3 separate regions of the Homo sapiens genome follow, and regions 2 and 3 are each linked to region 1. Evidence: promoter capture Hi-C in 16 types of primary human blood cells and fetal thymus (Javierre and others, 2016). All regions are on one chromosome and are shown on one strand. Each heading gives the region's core, a stretch centred on a gene start or on the middle of the fragment in contact. The rest is flanking DNA. Distances are from core to core; before and after follow the strand shown. Region 1 holds the start of OSGIN2 (oxidative stress induced growth inhibitor family member 2). Region 2 has its middle 71 kb from the start of RIPK2. Region 3 overlaps RIPK2 (receptor interacting serine/threonine kinase 2).

Region 1 (4,943 bases), core at 977-3,476:
AATTAAGGGGCAGAGTGGGGATGGTTAATAGGTACAAAAGTATAGACAGAATTAGATCTAGTATTTGACAGCACGAGAGTGACTAGTCAACGATAATTCATTGAACATTTTAAAATAACTAAGTATAATTAGATTGTTTGTAGCACAAAGAAAGGATAAATATTTGAGGTGATGGATACTCCATGTACCCTGATGTGATTATTACTTATTGTATGCCTGTATCAAAATCTCATGTACCCCATAAATATATATACCATGTACTCACAAAAAATAAAAATTAAAAATTAAAAGAATTATCTGGATTGGACTGGCATAGCTTTCAGGAATTTATATGTTTATTTTTAATTTTTTTGGTTACATAGTAGGTGTATATATTTAAAAATACGGAACGCTTCACGAATTTGCGTGTTATCCTTGGGAAGGGGCCATGCTAATCTTTATATTATTCTAATTTTAGTATATGTGCTGCAGAATTAAGCACTGCTTTTAGGAATGTAGGTACTTTATTTATTTATTTTTGAGACGGAGTCTCGCTCTGTCGCCCAGGCTGGAGTGCAGTGGCGCGATCTTAGCTCACTGCAAGCTCCGCCTCCCGGGTTCACGCCATTCACCATGGTCTCGATCTCCTGACCTCGTGATCTGCCCGTCTCGGCCTCCCAAAGTGCTGGGATAACAAGCGTGAGCCACCGCGCCCGGCCAGGTACTTTATTATTATTTTTTGATACGGAGTCTCACTCTTTGGCCCAGGCTGAGTGCAGTGGCGCGATCTCAGCTCACTGCAACCTCCGCCTCCCGGTTTCAAGCGATTCTCCTGCATCAGGCTCTTGAGTAGCTGGGATTACAGGCGCGTGCCACCACGCCCGGGGCTAGGTTTTGTATTTTTAGTAGAAACGGGTTTCACCATGTTGGTCAGGCTGGTCTGGAACTTCTGACCTCAGGTGATCCGTCCGCCTCGGCCTTCCAAAAGGAATTTAGGTACTTTAAAATGCTGTTATGTATGTTAACGGAAAAGTAACTACATGCTTCATTTTCAGAACCAACATTCAAATGAAATGAACGTGTCAAATCGACAAAAGCTCAAAAAAGAGAAAAACATATAATACTTAAAAGTGGTTAATATACTCTTAGATTGCATAACTCTGGGGCAGTCTGAGTCCTATGATTTTCTTTTAAGACCCCAAGACTCTAAAATACCTGCTCATCACAAGTTTGTTCAGTGACAACATTCAGTAAAACTTAACATTTGTTTTACAAAATTATGTTGAAAGATATAAACATAAACGTATATTTGAAGCACAAAAATAATTACGGCTTTTTTTGGAAGCGGAGTTAGACATTTCCGTAGAAAAGTAGATGCAATCAATCTCTCCTGATTTTTGTCCTCCCCACCTTTAATTTTTGACAAACCGAATAACGACACTCACTATTGAGTACTTTTCTAACTCCCTATTGCATCACAAACGCCCGCAGGGGCTTAAAAAGCAGCAGGGGTTCCTGCCCTTCCCCACACTGGCCGGTGTGGTCTGGGGCGGGCCTGATGAGCACCTGGATTTTCACCCGGCGTGCTGGTAATTCCTACACTTGTGGGTGTTTGAGAGACATGAAGAGGGGAGGATGACCTCTTCCCGGAAGCGGGACTTCCATAAAAGAAGCGTGGTGGGCGGGTCCCGGGCACCTGTGGTTTGGTGAGTCCTCCAGGTAACTGTGATGCGGGGGTCAGCGGGAGAGGCACCCGGAAGCTCCCGGCGTCTGCACCCCGGCAGCGCGAGGAAATGCCCAAAGGTGGGTTCTCAGGCGTGGGAAGCTCGACCCTTCCCGGGGTCCTCGGCGAAGTGGCCGAGGCCGCGCCTTACGCAGGGAACTCCGCCGGGCCATCTGGGTGGCCCGAGTTCGCAGCAGCTTCTCTTCCGCTCGTCCCTCGGCCCTCTCGACGCGCACCCACCGGCCTCACCAAGTCGCACGCAGAGGGGCGGCGGGGCGCTGACCGAGGTCTAGGTCTCGATTGCCGCCGGTCGAGCCGCGCAGTTTGCCTGCAGACCTCGGTCCCCTGCCCGCGCAGCCTCGGCTCCATCAGGCCCGGCCCCTCGCCCGGGCCGTGGCTCCACCAATCGCAGACTTCGCCCGCCGCAGCCGCACCTGCGAGGAGGGGCCCGCGCGCCGCTGCAGCCGCCGTCGCAGCGTCCCCGCCCCGCTCCGCCCCTATCGCGGCGCCCCGAGATCACCCGCCTCCGGCGCCTGGCTCCCTGCAGGCGAGGAGCGGAAGCCGCTATCTGGAGGCGGACTCCGGCGCCACAGAGCCGGGGCAGCCGCGGCAACGGCGAGGCGCGAGGCAGGGGCGCCCGGCAGACCCCGCGACCCCGAGCCAGCGGGCGCCCCGAGCGGGCAGCCTCGCCGGGGGAGGCGGAGGCGGCCACGGCGGCCGCGCTCGGGCGCCCCTCGCGCAGCGCTCCATGCCCGTGTGGTGCTGCCGCTGCTCCCTGGCCGGTCATTTCAGGTGACTTCCTCGCCGGGGATGGGAGGGGAGCAGGCGGGGATGCCGCGCTCTCGAGCTTTTTGGCCTGGCCCGGGCCGGGACCGGGGTGGAGGGCGAGCGCCTGGACCGCAGCGTCCTCCCGCCTCGGCCGTCCTGCCTGGCGTGGGGGTGGGGTGGGGTGCGGTGTGGTGGGGTCCTTGCTCCGGGGAGCCCTGCGCTGTTCCCTTTTCTCGCTCTGGACCGCGCGGGTCACGGGACTGCGGGATCGGCTAGGCCGGACTGAGTCGGTTACGGCGAGCTGAGACTTCCCAGTAGTGCAAAGTTTTAGTGAAGGGGGTTCTACGAAGTGCCTGCCTCCCTAAAAAAAAATTATTTCTTAAAAAGTCTTCTAAATAATGTAATGAGTGGAAGGAAGGTAGGGAACTACATTTCAGTGTCATCTAATCACAAATAGATTCTGCCTTGTTAAGATGTTAGCCATGGTAAGACGTGTGTGTTGTAGAAATTTAAAGAATGAGGCGGTTTTACAATCACCTTATGGGGAAAGGTTTTAGGGGTGATAAAATATAATACATTTCTAAAATAAAAGTATGTTTTCTAGATCTAGCACATTTGGTCAACACCTCAGTCATTGGTGGAAAGACCAGACACTAGAAACTGATTTTAACCCTGGGGTGAAGAATGGTTAAGCATAGGGAATACTTTAGTACCTTGCTTTACATATACTGATGTTCCAGAATAATTCTATGTAAGACTTCTTCCCTGGTAAAATATGAAATTTTGATCAAGCCTTCCTAAATAGTGGGTTTCATACAATTTAGGTAACCCATGAACTTGGATGGAAAGAAAGGTATATCATTTCACTAAATTTTAAAAACTAATATTCAGTTAAAATATAAGCAACAAATCACAGTAGTATCTGTGACTGTCATCAGTAGAGATCATAAAATATGTTTATATCACATTGCAGTTAATATAGAAATACTGTTTATACTTATTCAAAATTATAGTAACACATCACTGAATTTATTGAATGCAACAGAGAAGCACATATATATATCGCGTTTACTTTTTATGACTGTTTTAATAGAATTAGTTTTCTTGTAAATCCTGTGTATATTTAAGAACAGTATTCAGAGAAGAGGTTAAGAAGCGTCATCCTATAGTAAAAGAGATGTAAGGCATAGAGAAAGTTTGGAACTTCTTTTGTAACAGCGATAATCCAAGCTTGTCTAACCTCTCAGTGAGTTTAGAATGAGTCTCTAGGTTGTGGATATTAAGGAAAAATTGTTTCATATAATAAACTGCTTGATTTTAACTTTTAGGCAAATTTGTTGACTACTGAGACAGCGGTTTGAAGGTATCAGATTCACTATGGAAACTTTTAGGAAATAGGTTCCCCTAGTGAAACTTGTTAAACTAAATAAAGCCCATGAGAATCTAACATGCCTTTCAGAAAATATTGTGTGAAAGCTATTTGACACCTTTTGATGCACAGTGTAGGATTCATATTCTTTTGACTAATACTGGGTGTTGAATACCATTTGCTTCCTGCCGTGCACAGAAATTTGGAGTAGGGAGTGAAAACAAAGTATTTGCTATGTTTTGGTCTGGAGGGACAGAAAGAAAAACAAGCTAGCTGCCAAAGATAAACATTATGATTAATAAACCACACTTTTTATTGCAAAAACAGTTCTGTTGTGTCTAAAGTATTTTTTTTTTTAGTTGTTTACCAGCTCCTTCAGGAATATGTTTCTGATTTACCAGTGCTATTTCTCGAGCAGTTTCAGGTCAGTTCAGGTCATCCTGGCCAACATGGTGAAACCCCGTCTCTACTAAAAACTCAAAAATTAGCCGGGCAGGGTGGTGTGCACCTGTAATCCCAGCTACTCGGGAGGTTGAGGCAGGAGAATAGCTTGAACCCAGGAGACACGTTGCAGTGACCTGAGATCGCACCACTGCATTCCAGCTGGGCGACAGAGTGAGACTGTCTCAAAAAAACAAAAAACACACAAAAAAACACAGATTATAAAACAGGTTGTGACATCTATTGTCTAACATCTGAATGGATAAGTAGTGAGAGAACTGTCCACTAACTTTCCAAAGGAAAAAACCTCTTCCTTCGTGTTCTGGAAGATGAAGAGTGTGACTGACTTCATTTGTGGCTTTAGAACCTTCTTTCCATGTGGTAGTATAAATTTGGTAAATTTTAGGTTCATGGTTCCAAAGACTATAAAAATTCAGTTAGTAAAGCATTTCATTTTAGTTTGAATGATCATTTAAACAAGTACTGCTATGGTATGGAAAAAGTCTTTTTGTTATCCTGATACTATGTCCACACTATCCTTTGAAATGTTCTCTGAAACTTTGTGCTGTAATGTTTCAAAAACAAAAAATGGAAGGCCTCTAAAAGCATCTTAAATGTCAAATAGGCTTTTAACTTGCTTCCTAACAATAGAGTAACTAATTT
Region 2 (4,897 bases), core at 2,251-4,750, 72 kb before region 1:
TTCCTCCCCTGTCCCACTCATGTTCTATATTCATATTTCTGAGGATATTCACAGATCTCTACCCATATTTAAGTTAAGGGAAGTGCATCTTAAAGCTTCTTAAATCTATGAGAGACCTAAGATCCTGGGCCAGAGACTGACCAGAAACAAGCAGGACATAGGGTCTGAAGAAGCACATTCCTCCCTCAGGTCCTCCGCACACCTTCCTTCCCCTTTGATGGGACAATCAGGAGGCAGTGTCACATCTGTCCTTACTGAGTTCTTGCTAGTTTTTTTTAAATCTATTTATTTATTTATTTATTGACTGGATTATGAGACCAGCTAATTTTTGTATTTTTGGTAGAGAGGGGATTTTTACCATGTTGACAAGTCTGGTCTTGAACTCCTGGGCTCAAGCTATTCTCCTGCCTCAGCCTCCTGAGTAGGCGGGGCTACAGGTGCATGCCACCATGCCCGGCTAATTTAGAGATGGGGTTTCACTATGTTGGCCAGGCTGGTCTTCAACTCCTGACCTCAAGTGATCCACCAGCCTCGATCTCCCAAAGTGCTGGGATTACAAGCGTGAGCCACCGCACCCAGCTCCATTAGTTTTTGAGTTTGTAATCTTAATTACAGTATAGTCATATAAACATTAGTTTTTCTTCATGAAATAACTGTGATTGAAAGTCGTTTCTTCCCCTGACTATACACTATGCTTTCAGGTTATACTTGTGTTTTGCTGTTGTTGTTCTTGCTGCTGATGCTTTATGGATTTCAAAATGACGGAAAAGGAAAACAGCATAGGGAAGCTGATCCTCTTCCACACCCAGAGGGCCATTCTGCTGCCTCTCTTCCAGACACAAAAGGAGACAGAGCAGACATTCATGTGGCTGAATTCCTAATTTTCCATTATAGCTGCCAGCATGTGTGAAAACAAGCATAAAAACCAAAGACTTACCTTAATCTTCATTTCAGTCTATTTGGCATTTCTTGCACTTCCAAGTCTGAGGGATGAGTTATCTACCACAGCTAGGAAAATTTATCTCTATGCATTTACATTTGAACATTTTTACCAACTAAATAAAAGATAGATTGCTCTTAACTACTGCAAAAAGATGATTACTTTTTTCTAATATATGACTAAAATTTCTGCCCTATCTAGTTTTTTACATAGAAAGGTTAATTTCTATGAATCATTGCAAAGATAAAAATAAATTTTGATTAAAAATATTTATTCAATGGAAATACTATAAAGGGAGGATTTTAATATTGTTTCTACTGATGTAACTTGTCTTAATGGAAAACATCAGTGGATCATGGCTTTGGGAATCTCAGACTCATAATAATTACCACCTGTTTTGTGTTTGCAACGTGCCAGACACGGTAGTAGAGACCAGGATTTCAGAAATAAGTTAGATGTAATTCTGTCCCCAAATAATTTATGCCTAATAATAAAAACAGGTTTATGTCCACTTTGGATGAAATGAGTTGCTCTCATTCTGTTGCTCAGGCTGAAGTGCAGTGGCACAATCTCATCTCACTGCAATCTCATTGTTCCAGGTTCAAGTGATTCTTGTGCCTCACCCTCCCGAATAGTTGGGATTATAGATGTGCACCAACACACCCACTAATTTTTGTATTTTTAGTAGAGACAAGGTCTTGCCATGTTGGCCAGGCTGGTCTCAAACTCCTGGCCTCACGTGATCCACCCACCTCAGCCTCCCAAAGTGCTGGGATTACAGTCATGAGCCACTGTGCCCAGCTGGAAGCCAAGATTTTAATGCAAAATAAGAATTATCTAGGGTGAAGCTACAATATTGTGAAGGGAGTACAGAGCTGGCTTGAGATTAGAAAGGTTTTCTAGAGAGGTCACCCTCTCTAGAGTCAGTTTCAAAGTTGGGTAATACCAAGTGATTAACAAATACATCAACAGTTAAGGGCAGTTTAGGTGAACAGACTATGTGCAGATCATCTAACATAGTCACTGAAGATTAAGTAAGAATAAGAAATAGGCCTTGCTAAGCACTATAGGGAGGGAAGACAACCTAACCGATAATTATGTTAAGTATTATAACAGAAGCGAGCACAATGTCCAAAAACTGCATAGAGGCGGGTATTTCACTCAGCTCTGCAGATCAGAAAGGCTTCCCAGAACAGTAATGCTTTAGCTGAATCTTAATGAATAAGGATTTTTCCTGTGGTCAGAGAAGTGGGAAGGAAAGGACAGTTAAGGAGAGATTATACAGAAGATATTGGAAATGGAATGGATAATTTGTGCTCAGTCATTCGGCACTCACTATGTGCTAGACACTGGATGTTATCACAAGATGGGGTGGAGATTGATCTTGGACAAGACATACAGCAGCCAGATCATCTTTTTAAAAAGTAAATCACATCATTTTACTCTCCTATTCAACAACCTCCAAAGTGTGCTCCCCTTGCAAGCATAATAACTATTGTGGGTTCTTAGCATGACCCACACTGTCCAATATGATCAGTTCCCAAAAAATTTCGACAAGCTCACCTCCTGCCACATGCACTTACTCCCTCTGGCATTTTTTCTGTTTTGTAGGACAAACCTTTGGCTTCCCCAGGGGATTTTCTCCCTCCACCTGGAATGCTCATTCCTCATCATTTAGGTCTTAGCTCAGATGCTTTCAGAAGCCTTTCATTATCACCATATGAGAGTAACCCTCTTCCCCCAACGCCCTGCCTTAGACAATCTCAGTCTCATCTCCCTGTTTTTCGTTGTTGTTTTTTTTTCCTTTTTTTTTTTTTTTTTTGAGATGGAGTTTCACTCTTGCCACCCAGGCTGGAGTGCAATGGCACCATCTTGGCTCACTTCAACCTCCACCTCCTAGGTTCAAGTGATTCTCGTACCTCAGCCTCCCAAGTAACTAGGATTGCAGGCACTCACCACCACGCCCAGCTAATTTTTTGTAATTTTAGTAGAGATGGGTTTCACCATGTTAACCAGGATAGTCTCAATCTCTTGACCTCGTGATCCACCCACCTCGGCCTCCCAAAGTGCTGGGATTACAGGTGTGAGCCACTCTTAGGCCCCATCTCCATTTTACTCTCATAGTATTTATTACAATCTTAAAATGCCCATTTCTTTGTGTTATCTGCCTCCTCCAACAATACTCCACAGAAACAGAGATCTTATTTGTCTCTTAGACACTGCTCTAGCTTCAGCATCTAGAAGACTTGGCAATTATCTATTGGCTAAATGAATAAATAATGACCTTGAGAGTGAGTAAGCTGAGGGATGTTCATGATCACGAGAAGTGAGATTAGTTTAAAGAGCTTTCCTGGGTAAGAGTAAGCTCAGAGTAGGAAACTGAAAGGCGGATTGATGAAGATATAAATAATAATCCATGAGGAACTACATTATAAAAGTTTCTTTAAAAAGATTCTTAACATAGTAAGCATGACTGTATACATTGTGAGTATACAAACCTGGAAATTTATACCAGTGAATTTAAAATTGCATCTCTATAACACCATAAATCAATTTATTGTTTTGGCAAAGTATGGTAGCTATGCTGTCTCTTCTGTTGGAAGACATCTTTCAACTCATTATCTATTATTCTTTTAGCTACTGATTCTATGCCAGGCTCTCAATTATAGGATTCATGTGCTTAAGGAAAATATAGCCTGAAAGACCAAATCCAATCAAAGTAGGTAAAATATATACTGTCTGAAATTGCCTCACCATATGGCTTGAGAATTTCTCAACTAGCATTTATTTATGCATTATTTGTATGGTTTTTTATTTTTAAAATTTCCTTTTTTTCTTTGTTCATACCGAGTCCTGCACGTCTTATTAATTTTTTAAATAAAAGAAATACCTATGAGAAAGAGGCCAGGCATGGTGGCTCACGCCTGTAATCCCAGCACTTTGGGAGGCTGAGGCAGGTGAGTCACCTGGTTTCAGAAGTTTGAGACCAGACTGGCCAACATGGGGAAACACCGTCTCTGCTAAAAAAAACACAAATATTAGCTGGGCATTGTGCTGCCACCTGTAATCCCAGCTACTCGAGAGGCTGAGGCAGGAGAATCACTTGAACCTGGGAGGCAGAGGTTGCAGTGAGCTGAGATCGCGTCACTGCATTCCAGCCTGGGTGACAGAGTGGGACTCCATCTCAAAAAGAAAAAAAAAATACCTATGAAAAACAAAGACAACTTTTTAAAAACCTACTCTTTATCAAACATACATACCTAGGAATTTATCGTAAGGATAAAATTTAACAGAATTGAAAAGATAAGTGTGGCAATGTTAACTTGTTAACTATACTCTTATTTGTAAGAATAAAAACAAACAATAACAAAAGAAACTATGCATCAACTTGGAGGAGAATTCCGTGGCTTATAAAAATGATATCCCAAAAAACATAGAAAAATATTTATGATTACATATCAAATGAAAATAGCAGAGCCTGACATGGTAGCCTGCGCCTAGGATCCCAGCTGTTTGTGAGGCTGAGGCAGAAGAAGCGATTGAGGCCAGGTGCAGTGGCTTACGCCTGTAATCCCAGCACTTTGGGAGGCCAAGGCGGGCAGATCACCTGAGGTCAGGAGTTCGAGACCAGCCTGGCCAACATGGTGAAACCCTGTCTCTACTAAAGATGTGAAATTATCTAGGCATAGTGGAGGATGCCTGTAATCCCAGCTACTTGGGAGGCTGAAGCAGGAGAATGGTGTGAACCTGGGAGGCGGAGCTTGCAGTGAGCCAAGATAGATCGCGCCACTGCACTCCAGCCTGGGTGAGAGAGAGAGACTCCGTCTCAAAAAAAAAAAAAAATTGATTGAGCCCAGGAGTTTTTGAGTCTGCGGTGAGAGCTATAATCATTCAACTGCGCTCCAGCCCAAGTGACAGAGCAACACCTCGTCTCTTAAAAAGAAGAAAGAGAAAATA
Region 3 (4,804 bases), core at 2,171-4,670, 110 kb before region 1:
TTTGGACTTTTTTACTTGAGTAGGAAGCAACTATTGCAATTTTTTGAGCAAGGGAGTGACATAAAATTTTTTACTTTGGGGAGATTCATTCTGGCTGGAATGTGTAGGATATTTTGAAAGGAAAAGGAAACTTGAGATGGGGAGATCAGTTAGGAGACTATTACTGTAGTACCCGTGAGAGATTATTAAGAACCGATACAGAATGAAAGAAAGGAGGGGTGGTATGTGAGATGTTATAGACAACTAGATGATAGGACTTTGTAACTTTTCACTTAGAGGAGCGATGAGAGAAAAAAGAGGTAAAGCCAAATAAATTGTTAAGCCTGGGGACTGGGAGAACATTGGTGCCATTAAAAGAAATAGAAGTTAAAACAGGCTGCATGCGGTGGCTCACACCTGTAATCCCAGCATTTTGCAAGGCCAAGGTGGGCAAATCACTTGAGGCCAGGAGTTCAAGACCAGCCTGGCCAACATGCCAAAACCCCATCTCTACTAAAAATACAAAAAAATTAGCGGGTATGGTGGTGCACACCTGTAATCCCAGCTCCTCAGGAGGCTGAGGCACAAGAATCACTTGAACCTGGGAGGCAGGGGTTGCAGTGAGCTGAGATTGCGCCACTGCACTCCATCCTGAGTGACAGAGCAAGATTCTATCTCAATTAAAAAAAAAAAAAGTTAAAACAAGTTTTAGAGTTAAGACGGATAATTATACTTTTAATGTTTTTGTTTTTGTTTTTAATTTGAGGTACTAGGAGCACACAAAGGGTTGATGGCCAGAGGGCTTTTGAAAATATAACACTAAGGTTCATGGCTGAGTGTAGTGGCTCACACCTGTAATCCTAGAACTTTGGGAGGCTGAGACAGGTGGATCACCTGAGGTCACGAGTTCAAGACCAGCCTGGCCAACATGGTGAAATTCCATCTCTACTAAAAATACAGAAATTAGCCAGTTGTGGTAGCATGCAACTGTAATCCCAGCTACTTAAGAGGCTGAGGCAGGAGAATCGCTTGAACCTGAGAGGTGGAGGTTGCAGTGAGCTGAGATCGCAACCATTGCACTCCAGCCTGGGTGGCAAAAGCAAAACTCCATCTAAGAAAGAGAGAGAGACAGAGAGAGAGAGAGAGGGAGGGAGGGAGGCAGGGAGGGAGGAAGGAAGGAAGGAAAGAAGGAAGGAAGGAAATATAAGACGAAAGTTCAATGAAGACAGAAAATGTAATTGCGTGGATTTGGGAATAGAGGGGATGATTAAGTCCCTGAGGCTCAGTGGGATTGCCAGAAGAGAAACTAGAAAGACAGACATCATATATAGATTTAGAGAACATACTTAAACTTCAGAAGGAGTAAGAAGACACACAGGAAAAATATGGGACTATGTAAAGAAGTAAAATTCTATGATTTATAATTTACACAGAACAGACAATTTCTGACAGAAATTGTAGTGAAAGCATTCCATATAAACCCTTTTTTGTTTTAAGAAATATCTACTTGCAGAATTAGGTTTCTGAACCAGCCTTAATATTAGTGGAAACTAAAGACATTGGAGCCTACCTTCTGTCTGCTCAGATGTTGACATGTTAGCCAATAGGAATTTCTAAGGAGTATTCTACTTCTAATGAAGATGTTGTATTTTGTAGGAAAAGCTCAAGACTGTTATTTTATGAAGCTGCATCACTGTCCTGGAAATCACAGTTGGGATAGCACCATTTCTGGATCTCAAAGGGCTGCATTCTGTGATCACAAGACCACTCCATGCTCTTCAGCAATAATAAATCCACTCTCAACTGCAGGAAACTCAGGTAAATATTTACTGTGAAACACCTTGTAAGTGATGCCATTGACCTTACATATCTGTGTTCAGTGGATTTACCATACAATGAGGTTTGTCTTTATTTCCTCAATATGATAAATACATACCTTCTTAAGTAGGAAAACAAATCCCAGGAGATGGGAATGATGACATGGCCCAAATGGTATTCTATGAACATCTAAATAGGGAGGCAGTGCTAAGAGGAGGTATTAACATATTACTAATGGTAAAGTTATTTTTGTTTATTTAAAAAATTTGCAGGTATCTTTTATATTTGAAATAAAATGGACATCAAACAAAACTGAACAAATCCCAGAAGATGGAAATGATGACATAAAGTGGTTTTTGCCCCGTGATTTATACCATAGGAAAAGGCAATGCCTTTTCTGGGGAGTGAGGGGGAGATAACCCAAATCTCTGAATGTTTCCTGAAAAATGACACCATTCCCCAAAGTGTTGGTGTTCCATATTGGCACAATCATAGGAAAATTATGTTTTATGCTTTATTTATTTTTCATGGAATTTTACTTATTGCTATGTATCTGTCCTCACCTTTTAAATTATTCATTCCTTGTTCTTTTTCAGAACGTCTGCAGCCTGGTATAGCCCAGCAGTGGATCCAGAGCAAAAGGGAAGACATTGTGAACCAAATGACAGAAGCCTGCCTTAACCAGTCGCTAGATGCCCTTCTGTCCAGGGACTTGATCATGAAAGAGGACTATGAACTTGTTAGTACCAAGCCTACAAGGACCTCAAAAGTCAGACAATTACTAGACACTACTGACATCCAAGGAGAAGAATTTGCCAAAGTTATAGTACAAAAATTGAAAGATAACAAACAAATGGGTCTTCAGCCTTACCCGGAAATACTTGTGGTTTCTAGATCACCATCTTTAAATTTACTTCAAAATAAAAGCATGTAAGTGACTGTTTTTCAAGAAGAAATGTGTTTCATAAAAGGATATTTATATCTCTGTTGCTTTGACTTTTTTTATATAAAATCCGTGAGTATTAAAGCTTTATTGAAGGTTCTTTGGGTAAATATTAGTCTCCCTCCATGACACTGCAGTATTTTTTTTAATTAATACAAGTAAAAAGTTTGAATTTTGCTACATAGTTCAATTTTTATGTCTCTTTTGTTAACAGAAACCACTTTTAAAGGATAGTAATTATTCTTGTTTATAACAGTGCCTTAAGGTATGATGTATTTCTGATGGAAGCCATTTTCACATTCATGTTCTTCATGGATTATTTGTTACTTGTCTAAGATGCAATTTGATTTTATGAAGTATATACCCTTTACCCACCAGAGACAGTACAGAATCCCTGCCCTAAAATCCCAGGCTTAATTGCCCTACAAAGGGTTATTAATTTAAAACTCCATTATTAGGATTACATTTTAAAGTTTTATTTATGAATTCCCTTTAAAAATGATATTTCAAAGGTAAAACAATACAATATAAAGAAAAAAATAAATATATTAATACCGGCTTCCTGTCCCCATTTTTAACCTCAGCCTTCCCTACTGTCACCAACAACCAAGCTAAATAAAGTCAACAGCCTGATGTGTATCTTTCTGTCCCTTTCTTCCTGCTTATATTTAGAACATATGCTCATTTGAGAAAGGATCTTTCTGCATATTATTATTATAATTATACATCATACTGCAACCTGCTTTTTGCATTTAATAGTACAGCCTTCCAGATCAGATATGGCTCTAACTTACTCTTTTTACTTGCTGCCTAATACCCACAGTTTTTATTTTCTTAACTTGTCCATATCAAATTTAGCCCAAACAATAAAAGTACGGTGTGAGCACTTTTTTGGTTAATAGGTTATATTACTATAGGAGAACTTACAAGGAATAATAGCCCTTTTCTGAAACTGCGTAGCGAAGTCAGCAGAAAGTGAGATACAGAATAAATTTGAAAAGATGAACTTTCAAGAAGCAACAGACCCACAACCTGAAAAGTTTGAATAAAAGAAATTAGATGCCATTGAGGTAATTAAATATTAATTAGAAATATAAGCATTTTAATCTCCATTTTAGAGCTTGACATTAACTTGTACCTCTTACTGTGCCTTTCAGAAATATGGAAATTAATAGGGAAAAGTGAAAACTAAACACATGAGTTATCTATTAAATTTTAAAAAGCATTAAGATGCAAATTTTATTTGTGAAGTAATAAATAGAGAAAATTATTTTGGAAGCTTTCCCTTTTCTCTATACATACTCTAAAAAGAAATTATTTTGACTATTGATGGCCTCAAATTGATGTTTATACTGATTTCATGAGGTATATCTGGATTGATAAAATGAACTTTGCCTTGTTTTTTATTCTCTGCAAAGATCTAAAAACTCATAGTTTGTGTGCTTTATGGCTATGTGCTTACAGTCACTTTCTCCCACAATTTTCTGTATGGAAGACACGTGTAGTCATCCGTCATCACAGCTCTGCAAACTTTTTCTGCGTAAATAATAACATGTTGATAAGTAAGAAGATGTTGTCAGGGATTAAGATGAATCTGCAGTGAGCTCTCATCATCTCTTCATGGGATTGTTACAATCTCAGCAGTTGGTTTTTATTATAACCCCTATTTAGTAACTGCTACTTAGAGGAAGATGAGACAGATTATGCTGAGTATGACTAGTTAGTGTAGAACAGGGTCTGGCATAGAGTAGGCACTTTTTGAATAACTCTTTAATGAATAGTGCAATGGAATGAAAACATAGAGAAGGGGAGATGTTTCCTTTAAATCTTATTTCCAAAAATGTAGTGCAAGCACAGCTAGTAGTAAGTGGGATTATTTTAGGTCATATGTAGGCTCACCACTAAATGGCATTTGAGTCACTTAGTAAAGGACATTCTTTTCCGTTCTTTTTTGAGCCTTATAATTAAATAAAGGAGAATATCTCAATTTTTTTGCTAACATCTTTTTATCCCCCTCGTTAACAAAATGAGAATAGGCTTTAGGCTCAGAACTTCAGAGACTAT

The links. The method cuts DNA at HindIII sites, captures the fragments that hold promoters and counts their contacts. A CHiCAGO score of 5 or more calls a contact.
Region 2: a fragment that was not itself captured here is called in contact with the fragment with the promoter of OSGIN2 in region 1 in 1 of 17 cell types (monocytes); the score reaches 5.1 in monocytes.
Region 3: a fragment that was not itself captured here is called in contact with the fragment with the promoter of OSGIN2 in region 1 in 4 of 17 cell types (monocytes, M0 macrophages, M1 macrophages and 1 more); the score reaches 10.8 in monocytes.

What each region holds. Positions count from the first base shown.
Region 1 is chr8:89,900,344-89,905,286 of GRCh38, forward strand. It overlaps OSGIN2 (oxidative stress induced growth inhibitor family member 2), which reads left to right and starts at 2,227. Exons shown (of 6, transcript NM_001126111.3): 1 at 2,227-2,494. The coding sequence starts at 2,451. It overlaps LOC124901974 (a long non-coding RNA gene), which reads right to left and starts at 2,063. Exons shown (of 2, transcript XR_007061001.1): 1 at 1,676-2,063. It also overlaps the pseudogene RNU6-925P. RefSeq lists enhancers at 106-871, 872-1,637 and silencers at 1,931-2,229, 1,979-2,318, 2,349-2,798, 3,792-3,851. The HindIII fragment of the contact is 4,461 bases long and covers 1-3,698 here.
Region 2 is chr8:89,826,739-89,831,635 of GRCh38, forward strand. No RefSeq gene overlaps it. Among named protein-coding and RNA genes, the nearest start is that of RIPK2, 71 kb to the left of the region's middle. The HindIII fragment of the contact is 6,814 bases long and covers 94-4,897 here.
Region 3 is chr8:89,787,686-89,792,489 of GRCh38, forward strand. RIPK2 (receptor interacting serine/threonine kinase 2) reads left to right here. Exons shown (of 11, transcript NM_003821.6): 10 at 1,636-1,797; 11 at 2,394-3,379. The coding sequence ends at 2,731. Among named protein-coding and RNA genes, the nearest start is that of RIPK2, 32 kb to the left of the region's middle. RefSeq lists a silencer at 2,523-2,723. The HindIII fragment of the contact is 1,194 bases long and covers 2,824-4,017 here.